Linked DNA regions of Homo sapiens: region 2 is linked to region 1. The links are contacts of gene promoters, found by promoter capture Hi-C in blood cells and fetal thymus (Javierre and others, 2016). All regions are on one chromosome and are shown on one strand. Each heading gives the region's core, a stretch centred on a gene start or on the middle of the fragment in contact. The rest is flanking DNA. Distances are from core to core; before and after follow the strand shown.

Region 1 (5,770 bases), core at 3,203-5,702:
GCTGCCTAGGGCCTGATTACAGCTGGAACCTCCCAAAGGATGGAGGAACACGTCATCAGCCAGGGCCAGCCCAGGCCACCAAGCCAGAGCTCAAGGGTGTGGTGCTTTCTCCTCCCTCCCTACCTAGGGCAGCTTCCTTTGACAGCACACTTGCTGCTTCAAACTTCTAACAAATATCGACCATTCTTTCAAACAATAGAAGGGGGTCAGAATGAGCTATATAAGATCTTTTTCAAAAGAATTTTCTTTCTACGAATAAATAGGAGAACTGCTGAAGGAGAAAATTACACTAAAAAAAATGGAAATAAACTGAAATGGAGGCTTCAAAAAACTAGAAGAGAGCATCCTCTACTTTAGACAAAAAAAAAACTTCACTAATTCAAAAGAAAATTAATGTGGCAGAGAAATTACATGCTCTCTGCCACATTAGAGTACAATATGCTCATAATAGAATATGCTCATAGTAGGATATGCTCATAGTAGAATGAATATGCTCATGGGGTGTCCACTGCAGATTTCTTCCCAGTTGGCCTCTACTTAGTCCAAGCCGACCCACCCAGCCTTGGTTACCAGAAGGGAGCATCACCATCCTGCTTGAGAAGATGAAACAATGGCCATAAAAGGTTCAAGCTTATAAGAGATATAAAGTTCCTCACCAGAGTCCCATAATGTACAACCTACCTGGCTCTCCCATCTCCTCTCCTCCACTCTCGAGCTCACCTCCTCCTCCCTCTGTAGACAATCTCCTTGGTCTCCCCTTCTTTCCTGCCTTCTGCTGTTCTTGACCTACTCTTTCCACTAGCTCTGACACTTCCCAACATCCCCAAGCCAAAGCATTCCAAACCATTGTATTTACATTCTCGGGACCCTTGGTCAGCTACGATTTCGATTATTCAGATTATATATTCCTGGGACCAAACAATTTGGTTTAATTTCATCTAATACATAGATGCATTATGCACATGGAAGGTATTTTGTCCTTTTATTAAATTTGTTGGCTGGGCACAGTGGCTTATACCTATAATCCCAGCATTTGGGAGGCCAAGGCAAGGTGGGCAGATCGCTTGAGCCCAGGAGTTAAAAACTAGCCTGAGTAACATGGCAAAACTTCGTCTCTATTAAAAAAAATACAAAAATTAGCCAGGCATGGTGGCGCACGCCTGTAGTCCCAGCTACTGAGGAGGCTGAGGTGTGTGGATCGCTTGAGCCTAGGAGGCAGAGGTTACAGTAAGCCATGATTGCACCACTGCACTCCAGCCTGGGTGACAGAAGACCCTGTCTCAAAAAACAAACAAACAAAAATTTATAAAAGGCCATGGGGCTCCAAAAAATTTTGAAAAAGTGCCACAAATGAAAATGTACATCCAGGCCAGGAGTGGTGGCTCATGACTGTAATCCCAGCACTTTGGGAGGCTGAGGTGGGCGGATCACCTGAGGTCAGGAGTTCAAGACCAGCCTGGCCAACATGACGAAACTCCATCTCTACTAAAAATATAAATATTAGCCCAGCATGGTGGTGCACACCTGTAGTCCCAGCTACTCGGGAGGCTGAGGCACTAGAATCGCTTGAACCTGGGAGGCGGAGGTTGTGGTGAGCCGAGATCACACCACTGCACTCCAGCCTGGGTGACAGAGTGAGCCTGTGTCTCAGAAAAAAAAAAATTAGAAAAGAAAAGAAAGAAAGAAAATGTACATCCAAAGAGGGGCATAAATTTCTATGAACTAAATGCTATTTGTCTGCTTTTTTTTTTGCTTAGATAAAATGTTTTTTATCTAACCAATGCCATGGCTCATGGGCTTTCATGACAGATGTGTTAATCTACCCCTTCTAGTGATTATGTGGAAATAAAAGAAAGGTTATTCTGTTTTAAAGTAAAATTTTATCATTATATCCATCAGGTTCGCTAGACAAATTAGAAGAGTTAAATTGAAAAAGCCAGAGATTTCACAAATTCACAAATTTCTGAATAGGTGCTACAAAAAACAAACAAACAAACAAACAAGCAAACCAAAAAAACTGCTTTTAGTTTAGCTACTTGTCCCATGAGAAGAAAACAAATCTGTTAAAAGTTACTAATTACTGTCACAGTATAAACAAAAGATTGTCCTTTTCTTCCAGAGTAACGACCGTTTATCTTATAGTTTGCCACAATGGCAAGCACTAGGCCACCTACCTTACAAACATCATTTCTTTTGTTGTTGTTCAGACGAAGTCTGGCTCTATTGCCCAGGCTGCAGGCGCAGTGGCGTGATCTCCACTCACTGCAACCTCCGCCTCCCTGGCTCAGGAGATTCTCATGCCTCAGCCTCCTGAGTAGCTGGGATTACAGGTGCCCACCACCATGCCTGGCTAATTTTTGTGTTTTTAGTAGAGATGGGGTTTCACCATATTTACCAGGCTGGTCTCAAACTCCTGATTTCAAGCGATCCGCTCACCTCAGCCTCCCAAAGTGCTCGGATTACAGGCCTGAGCCACTGTGCCTGGCCAACACCATTTCCATTAACTCTCACAACAACACTTTCTCTTTTTTTTTTTTTTTTTTTTGAAACTGAGTCTTGCTCTGTTGCCCAGGCTGGAATGCGATCTCGGCTCACTACAACCTCCGCCTCTCAGGTTCAAGTGATTCTCCTACCTCAGCCACCTGAGTAGCTGGAATTACAGGCGCCTGCCACCACGCCTGGCTAATTTTTGTATTTTCAGTAGAGACGGGGTTTCGCCATGCTGGCCAGGCTGGTTTCGAACTCCTGGCCTCAAACAATCCACCCGCCTCGGCCTCCCAAAGTGCTGGGATTACAGGCGTGAGCCACCACGCCCGGGCCACAACAACAATTTCAAGAGGACTCTTTGTCCCATCTTAAAGTTAAGAAACTTAGGTTTAGAAAGAGTAAGGTTCCAAACGCCAAGTAAGTGGAGCCAGGAAGTAAAACCCATCACTGCCTCCCAGGAAGGCTGCATTTATGGACCTTCAAAGGCTTATCGCCATAACTAAAAATCAACTGGAGGCCAGGCGCAGTGGCTCACACCTGTAATCTCAGCATTTTGGAAGGCTGAGGCATGCGGATCACCTGAGGTCAGGAGTTCGAGACCAGCCTGGACAACATGGTGAAACCCCGTCTCTACTAAAAATACAAAAATTAGCCCAGCGTGGTGGCGCACACCTGTAGCCCCAGCTACTCACGAGGCTGAGGCAGGAGAATCGCTTGAACCCAGGAGGCAGAGGTTGCAGTGAGCCGAGATCACGTCACTGCACTCCAGCCTGGGTGACAGAGCGAGACTCTATCTCAAAAAAATAAAAATAAAAATCAACTGGAGAAGGAAAGGGGGTTGGGGAGCATCCTCTGAATATATAAAGGCAGCCATTCATTGTAGGAGAGGAGGTAGAAGGAAATGCTGTTTGTCGATGGTTCTTTTCCAGAGAGGAAGAGAGGAGAAAGGAAGAGCGGGGAGCAGGTGGGGAGCCCGCAGTAAGACCCCACAGTGGGGCCAGGTGGTCTTGCACCCTGTATTCCCACTTTGGCTGGGGCCAGCCCAGAGTCCAGGCCAGCAGGTAATGCCCCAGCCATGCCCACTCGGTCCTATTGGATCCAACCTTTCCCTGCGTGGTACCAAACCTAAAGCCAGCTTCCCTCTCCTTGCAAAACAAAACCCCAAAGCTGGCACCACTGCTTCTCTGCCTCCTCACCAAAAGGTTTTCATGATGTCATGACATTAGTTTAAACCTAAAACTAAATGTATGTTTTATTTTAAAAAATAATAATTCCATGAAAAACTCCTGAAGTGCTTACAATGGAGACGTACAAAAAAATTGATTCGGGAATCAGCAGTGTGAGGGGGAGACGGCTTAATCTCTTCTATTTAAAGGCTTCTGGAACTTCACGGGGGCTCTGGGACAGGGGCGTGTTTAGAAAAAAGGCAGGATGTGTCAGATTTCTTCTGACTCTTCCTCCCCGGGGGAGCAGGAGCCAATTGCTTGCTTTCTCTTAAAACTAGTCCACACAGCCCCAAACCAAGTTCCCGGGAAATGGCCAGCCCAAAAATCCTGTTTCCCTGGAGATGTACCGTGCTTTACAGTGCAGGAAACGGGGACAGTACAGGCTGGCAAATCCTATTTCTGAAAGAGCATCCCACACACGGAGGAGGTTCGCTCTCCATCTCCATCGCCACCAGGAAGAATGAGGTAAAAAGCAGGAGGAGGCTCCGTTTGTCACGGGAAGATTCTCCGACTCAAACCTCCCACGTGCAATCGCTGCCTCCCGCGCCCGCCCCCTCACCTTGTTCGTGAGGTAAGAAGCCAGGTAGCAGGTACAAAAGGTGAGGCCGACCAGAGACCTCCTCACGCACATCTGTCAACTCGTCCCCTTCTCGGGGATCCACGGTGCCTGCCCAAATCCCCTGGCCGCCGCCCGACCCCCGCAGCAGCAGCAGCGGCAGCGGCAGCAGCCGCCCAGAGACGGCCACGTGGCTCCGAGCTCCGCCAATCAGCGCGGGGACCGCCCCCGGCGTCTGCCTTCTTAAAGGGGCCGCGCCCTCGAAGGACGGTCATTCTTCTTTTATTTTTTATTTTTTATTTTTTTATCTTCTTTTAAAGAGTAGAAAGTGGCAGAAGAGGAAAAAAGCATACCGCAGTTCACAATACCCCATCAGTGTTTAAAGAAAAATGTTCATCGCTATCTCTAAACTATGAGACCAAAATATTACCCGTGCTTCACTGAATTTTCCCAATTTTCTCCACTGAGTCTGTAGCGCTTTGGCAAATGACACAAAAAAGGTAACAGCAACAAATGTTCACTTAAAAGAGGGAAGGTGAAGGAAGAAGGAACTGGAATTGAGTATAGGTTTTTTGAGTTTTGTTTGTATTTAAAGTCATTCCATTCTCTTGACATTTCTATAAAATAAGAACCCTTTCCCAAGCACAGCCCCTATTCCTATTCCTATTCCTAGTCTATAGGGTGGAAAACTGGACTCATGAGGCTTCCGGCAAATGTTAGTAAACATGCAAGAAAACCTATTGATGGACTTGGACAATAGCAAAAAGTGCCAGTGTTCTCTGCCTGTAGAAACACACAGATTTTCAGAAACACCCACACACGGGGAAACCATCACTCTTAAGCCACAGCAAAAGTCCTCCTGGCTCTCGGTGCTGGAGCAGTGGATGGAAAACGACACACCAACCCTTATGTAATTTTTCTGTTTTTCAGAAGCATGCCTTGTTTCTCTCTGCTCCCTCCAGCATTGAGGGAGGGCTGACCTCGGCTTGTCCCCTTGAAGCCACTCCCCAGCCACCACTGTCTCATCGCAGTCCTTTGCCTCTGCTCACTTTTCCACAGGTCTCTTCCTGGGCCTGCTGGTTGGTCTGCAGAGGGGACCAACATAGAGATGGAGGTAGGCTGGTCACCCCTTCCCTCCCTTTTCTCCCACAGTCTCCTTCAAACCACTTGTACAGATGGGTATAGCTTTCTCTACCAAGACTGGATGATATGGTTTGGCTGTGTCCCCAAATCTCATCTTGAATGGTAGCTTTCATAATTCCCACATGTTATGGGAAGGACCTGGTGGCAGATAATTGAATCATGGGGGCAGTTTCCCCCATATTCGTCTCGTGGTAGTGAATAAGTCTCCCCAGAGCTGATGGTCTTATAAGGGGAAACCCCTTTCGCTTGGCTCTCATTTTTTCTCTCTTGCCTGCCACCATGTAAGACGTGCCTTTTGCCTTCCACCATGATTATGAAGCCTCCCCAGCCCCGTGGAACTGTGAGTCCATTAAACCTC
Region 2 (5,559 bases), core at 843-3,342, 160 kb after region 1:
ACTCTTTTTGTTAATAGACTTTTCCTTTTAATTAAGATATAATATTCATATATGAGGTATACAGAACTTAGCTGTACAGCTTGATGAGTTTTCTACTTTTTTTTTTTGAGACTGAGTCTCACTGTGTCACCCAGGCTAGAGTGCAGTGGTGTGATCTTGGCTCACTGTAAACTCTGCCTCCTGGGTTCAAGTGATTCTTGTGCTTCAGCATCCCAAGTAGCTGGGATCATAGGCACACTCCACCATGCCTGGCTAATTTGTGTATTTTTAGTAAAGACGGGGTTTCGCCATGTTGCCCAGGGTGGTCTCAAACTCCTGGACTCAAGTGATCCACCTGCCTTGGCCTCCCAAAGATCTGGGATTACAGGCATGAGCCACTGCGCCCAGCCAAGTTTCTTTTATGTGTTAAACACTTTTATTAGTTGTCTATTACTGAATAACAAATTACTCCAAAACTTAGTATATTAAATGAACAAACATTTATTTTATCCCAGTTTCTGCCAGTCAGGGATTTGGGTGGTTCTAGGTGGTTCTGGCTCAGGGTCTCTCCTGAGGTTATGGCCAAGAAGTTGGCCCAGGCTACCATCATCTGAAGGCTTGACTGGGGCTGGAGGATCTGCTGTTGAAGATGCTGTGGGAAGCTGGGCTCGGTGGCTCACACCTGTAATCCCAGCACTTTGGGAGGCCAAGGTGGGCGGATCACTTGAGGTCAGGAGTTCGAGACCAGCCTGGCCAACATGGTGAAACCCTGTCTCCACTAAAAATACAAAAATTAGCCGGGCATGGTTGCACATGTCTGTAATCTCAACTACTCGGGAGGCTGAGGCAGGTGAATTGCTTGAACCCAGGAGGCCGAGGTTCCAGTGAGCTGAGATCATGCCACTGCACTCCTGCCTGGGTGACTGAGCAAGACTCTGTCTCAAAAAAAAAAAAAAAAAAGATGCTGTGGGAAGGAGGCCTCAGTTCCTCCTCTCCATAGGCTGCTGAGTGTCCTCAGGACTTGGCAGCTGGCTTCCTCCAGAAGGAGTGATCCAAAAGGGATTGAGAGCAAGGCAGAGCCATAATGTCTGTTATGAGTTAGCCTCAAATGTTATATGCCATCACTTCTGCCATGTAATACTGGGCACACAGACCAGTCCTGATGCAGTGTAGGAAGGGGACCAGACAAGGACAAGAGGAGGGGAGCACTGGGGCCATCTTGGAGGCTGGCAACCACAACATCCATGTAGCCAACACCCAGAGGAAGGATATGGAAACTTTAGCACTTCAGAAGCCTCCTTTATGCCCCTTTCCCAGTCGATATCATCACCCCTCCTTTAACCGGGAGGCAACCACTCTTCTGATTTCTCTCACTGTAAGTTGGTTTTGCCTGTCCTTGAACTTCATGTAAAGGGAATCATACTCCTCTGCGTCTGGTTTCTTTCACTGAACATTATGTGTGTGGCTCATCCACATTACTTGTGGTGGTAGCATCTTTTAAAAGAATTGCTGTGTAGTATTCCATGGCTCAAACATATCATGGCAGACATCTGGGTTGTTTCTTCTTCCAGTTTGGGCTGTTACAAATAAAGGTGCTGTGAGCACTGTTGTACAGGTCATGTGTTCAGTATACACACTCAATTACTTTGGGTTCTGTGATAGACTTTTTAAACTCTTTACTTACGCAAGCCAAATTTTATAGACATCTTCATTTAAAATAGCTTACAGCTACAACTCATGACTTTAGTACCAATGGTTATGACCTACTCGGAAATGGGCATTGTTGCTCAGAATTCTGGTAAAATGTTACTCATCCTAGTAAGGAAGGATGTTTGAGTTGGTGATTAATCCAGTCATGGGTTGTGGTGTAACTTCCACTCAGTTAGGATGCTACCAGAGTTGGAATGACTTGTGGTTTAGCAGTCAGGGTTTCAAACTGGCATTGCCTTCCCTGCAGGATTTGCTCACAGGACATAGTTTCCTTTGCCAGGGGTGGTTTTTGATCAAATGTTTCCTAAAATGGAGAGTCCAACTCCTGTAAACTGAAGACTTTCTAAGACTATTCTTAAAACTTGAAATGTAGGAATAACAACAGCATTTCACTCATTAAAGCTCGGAGGATTCAATCCTAGTGAGGGAGGGAAGAAGAACCAAAGATAGCGGAAGGAATTTTTTCTGTTGACAGAGATAAGGCTGACATGTCACCTAAGAACTGAAGATCTTTAATTAACTTCCTTTATGTTATTTTTATTTTACTTTATTTTATTTTTACTTTTTGAGATGGAGTCACACTCTGTCGCCCAGGCTGGAGTTCAGTGGTGCGATCTTGGCTCACTGCAACCTCCGCCTCCTGGGTTCAAGTGATTTTCCTGCCTCAGCCTCCTGAGTAGCTGGGATTATGGGCGCCCACCACCACACCTGGCTAATTTATTAAGTTTTAGTAGGGACAGGGTTTCGGCATGTTGGCCAGGCTGGTCTCGACCTCCTGGCCTCAAGTGATCTGCCCGCCTTGGCCTCCCAAAGTGCTGGGATTATAGATGTGAGCCACTGTGCCTAGCTGAATTCCTTTGTTGAAACATAACCTCATTCATATTAATAAATTAATTTTTTTTTTGAGAGAGAGGGAATTGCTCTATTACCCAGGCTGGAGTGCAGTAGTGAGATCACAGCTCGACCTCCCAAGGCTCAAGTGATCCTCCTACCTTAGCCTCCTGAGTAGCTGGGACTTCTGGCACACACCACCATGCCAGGCTAATTTTTTGTATTTTTTGTACAGACGGAGTCTCACTTTGTTGCCCAGGCTAGTCTCAAACTCTTGGGCTCAAGTGCTTTTCCCACCCCAGCCTCCCAAAGTGCTGGGATTAGAAGCATGAGCCACCATGCCTAGCCTCACTCATATTTTAAAATTACCTGAAAGTATTGCTAAAAATAAGGATTAGGTCACCAGGAAAAGAATCGAAGACTTTCCAGACCCAGTGATACATAGGTTATTTAACTGAGGGCTAAGTATAGTCAGAGGGCCCAGAGAAAACACCTCTGTGTGACTAGTTTACCCTCCATGTGTTCATTACATTAAGCAGAAGAATAATTATTTTCACATTTCTCGACTAGAATGTCTAATGCTAGTTTTGCCTGTCATTTTTTGTTTTTGTTTTTCTCCATGCTTTGAAGTACAAATACTAGGGTCTGAGCTGCTATGGCTCAATGGCATGAAATATCATAACATGGTGTGGCTTTGTTCACAGCCAGGCATGTTCTAAGCACTTTAGCATCTTTTCACAGTGAGATGAAGTTCACCAATTTGGCTGGGCAAGGTGGCTCATGCCTGTAATCCTAGCACTTTGAGAGGCCAAGGCAGGCAGATCGCTTGAGTCCAAGATTTGGAGGCCAGCCTGGGCAACATGGCGAAACTCCAGCTTTACCAAAATACGAAAGTTAGCCAGGCATGGTGGTGCGTGCCTGTAGTCCCAGCTACTTGGTAGGCTGAGGAAGGAGGATCGTTCGAACCCAGGATGCAGAGGTTGCAGTGAGTTGAGATCGTGCCATTACACTCCATCTTGGGTGACAGACCAGGACCCTGTCTCAAAAAAAAAAAAAATCACCAATTAAAACCAATCAACCAGCATAGGTATAGATCCGCAACCATAAATTATCTCATTTGACCAGGCCTGTTTGCATTGCACCACGCCTATTTGCATCTCTATAGGGTGGTACCAAGTCTGTTTTTTTCATGTTGCCTTAGTCTTAGTACAGAGCAGAGGCAATGCACACTGATAGTTGGCCGGTGATTCCTAGAAAGCATCAGGAGTATCTTCACAAATACAATTCTATCCAGTGAGGAGTAGAATCATTTCAAGGGAATAATTTTATTTAATTTAACGTTAGCTCCAGGTCCACTCACCAATCCTTATCCATAATCTCCATTACAAGGCCAGAATTCTTTTTTTTTTCTTTTTTTTTTTAGATGGAGTCTCACTCTGTAGCCCAGGCTGGAGTGCAGTGGCACGATCTCGGCCCACTGCAACCTCTGCCTCCCGGGTTCAAGCGATTCTCCTGCCTCAGCCTCCCGAGTAGCTGGGATTACAGGTACCTGCCCCTGTGCCCGGCTAATTTTTGTAGTTTTAGTAGAGATGGGGTTTCAACATCTTGACCAGGCTGGTCTTGGAACTCCTGACCTCGTGATCCACCCTCCTCGGCCTCCCAAACTGCTGGGATTACAGGCAAGAGCCACCACGCCCAGCCACAAGGCCAGAATTCTTTGATGACTGAACAAGCTCATCAAAGACAGAGTGGTGGAGCAAAAGCAGCCTCGAGTTTCCCAGCCTTTGTGTCATATGGCCACACTTCTTCACGTGGTTCGCTGCCTGCTCTCCTCTCCTGGAGACCTTCTCCTTCCTCATTATGTTTCACTTCCTGCTCTTGTTCATTGTTTCATTCTCTTTGCTGAGTTCCCTTCTTTCAAAGTTTATTCTCAGTTTGCCATCTGTTTAAAAAAAAATGTATTAAATTTAGAGGCAGGGCCTTGCTATGTTGCCCAGGCTGGTCTTCAATTCCTGGGCTCAAGTAATCCTCCCGCCTCAGCCTCCCTTCAGACAGTAGCCACTATGCCCAGCCATTTTGCCATCTCTTTTATTCTCAGCAGATTCTCCGTGGGGACCTCATTCATCCCATGACTTTGACCATCACCTCTATGCAGATGATGCCTACACTAGTAACAACAGCCTTGTCCTAAACATTAATTTGTTATTTCCAACTGCCTTCTAGAATCTATTTCACAGATCCTTCCAAGTGAACATGTCCAAACTCTATCTCCTCACCCCAAATCTGCTATTCTTCCCTATTGCCTAACAAAGTTATTGGCTCATCCACCTTGTAAACTTTGTGGGCCAAGAAGAATTAACAAAGCCAGCCCAAGACTGCCTATCCTTAGGAAGTCCTGCTTACAAGGTTGGCCCTCAGCTGACAAACAGTTCCCTACACTGATATCAAACTTGCCCTAAATGATAAGAAGTATTCACTTTGCCTTAACTGTTTGTGCAAACAATGTGGTTTATACTGAATGCCTGTTTTCCTTCTGGAGGTCTTGATTTTTGGTAAATGCTAGGCAGAAGGGATCTATGTGACCAGCTCCCGGTTGAAACCCTGAGCACTAAGTCTTCAATGAGTTTCCTTGGTAGACAACACTTGCTGCCACAACTCGGTTGCTGGAGGAATTAAGCTCATTCTGTGGGAGAGGTTTCTCAGAAGCTTGCACCTGCTGTCTTCTATCTTTGCTCTATTTTCCTTTTGTCTTTGCTGATTTTGCTATGTGTCTTTTTGCTGTAATCTTAACCATGTATTTGAGTATACATGTATATGTAACCATGTATATGAGTATATTTATGAGTAAACTAGATATATGAGTCCTATGTCTTCCTAGCAAGTCACTACACCTGGGGATGATCTTGGGAATGCCTAACACACTTTAGCACAATTCTTAGCTCTCCTTTCTTTTCTTCATCCTCTATATTTAATTGTCACCAATTATCATTAACTCTACCTGCAAGTATTTTCAAAAACATGTCCCATATTCTCCACCTT

The links. The method cuts DNA at HindIII sites, captures the fragments that hold promoters and counts their contacts. A CHiCAGO score of 5 or more calls a contact.
Region 2: a contact is called between a fragment that was not itself captured here and the fragment with the promoter of SLC35D4 in region 1, in 1 of 17 cell types (neutrophils). The highest score is 5.9, in neutrophils.

Annotation. Positions count from the first base shown.
Region 1 is chr18:23,433,509-23,439,278 of GRCh38, forward strand. It overlaps SLC35D4 (solute carrier family 35 member D4), which reads right to left and starts at 4,453. Exons shown (of 15, transcript NM_032933.6): 1 at 4,273-4,453. The coding sequence starts at 4,344. RefSeq lists a silencer at 4,482-4,581. The HindIII fragment of the contact is 5,255 bases long and covers 629-5,770 here.
Region 2 is chr18:23,592,118-23,597,676 of GRCh38, forward strand. No RefSeq gene overlaps it. Among named protein-coding and RNA genes, the nearest start is that of NPC1, 8.4 kb to the left of the region's middle. The HindIII fragment of the contact is 6,264 bases long and covers 1-5,224 here.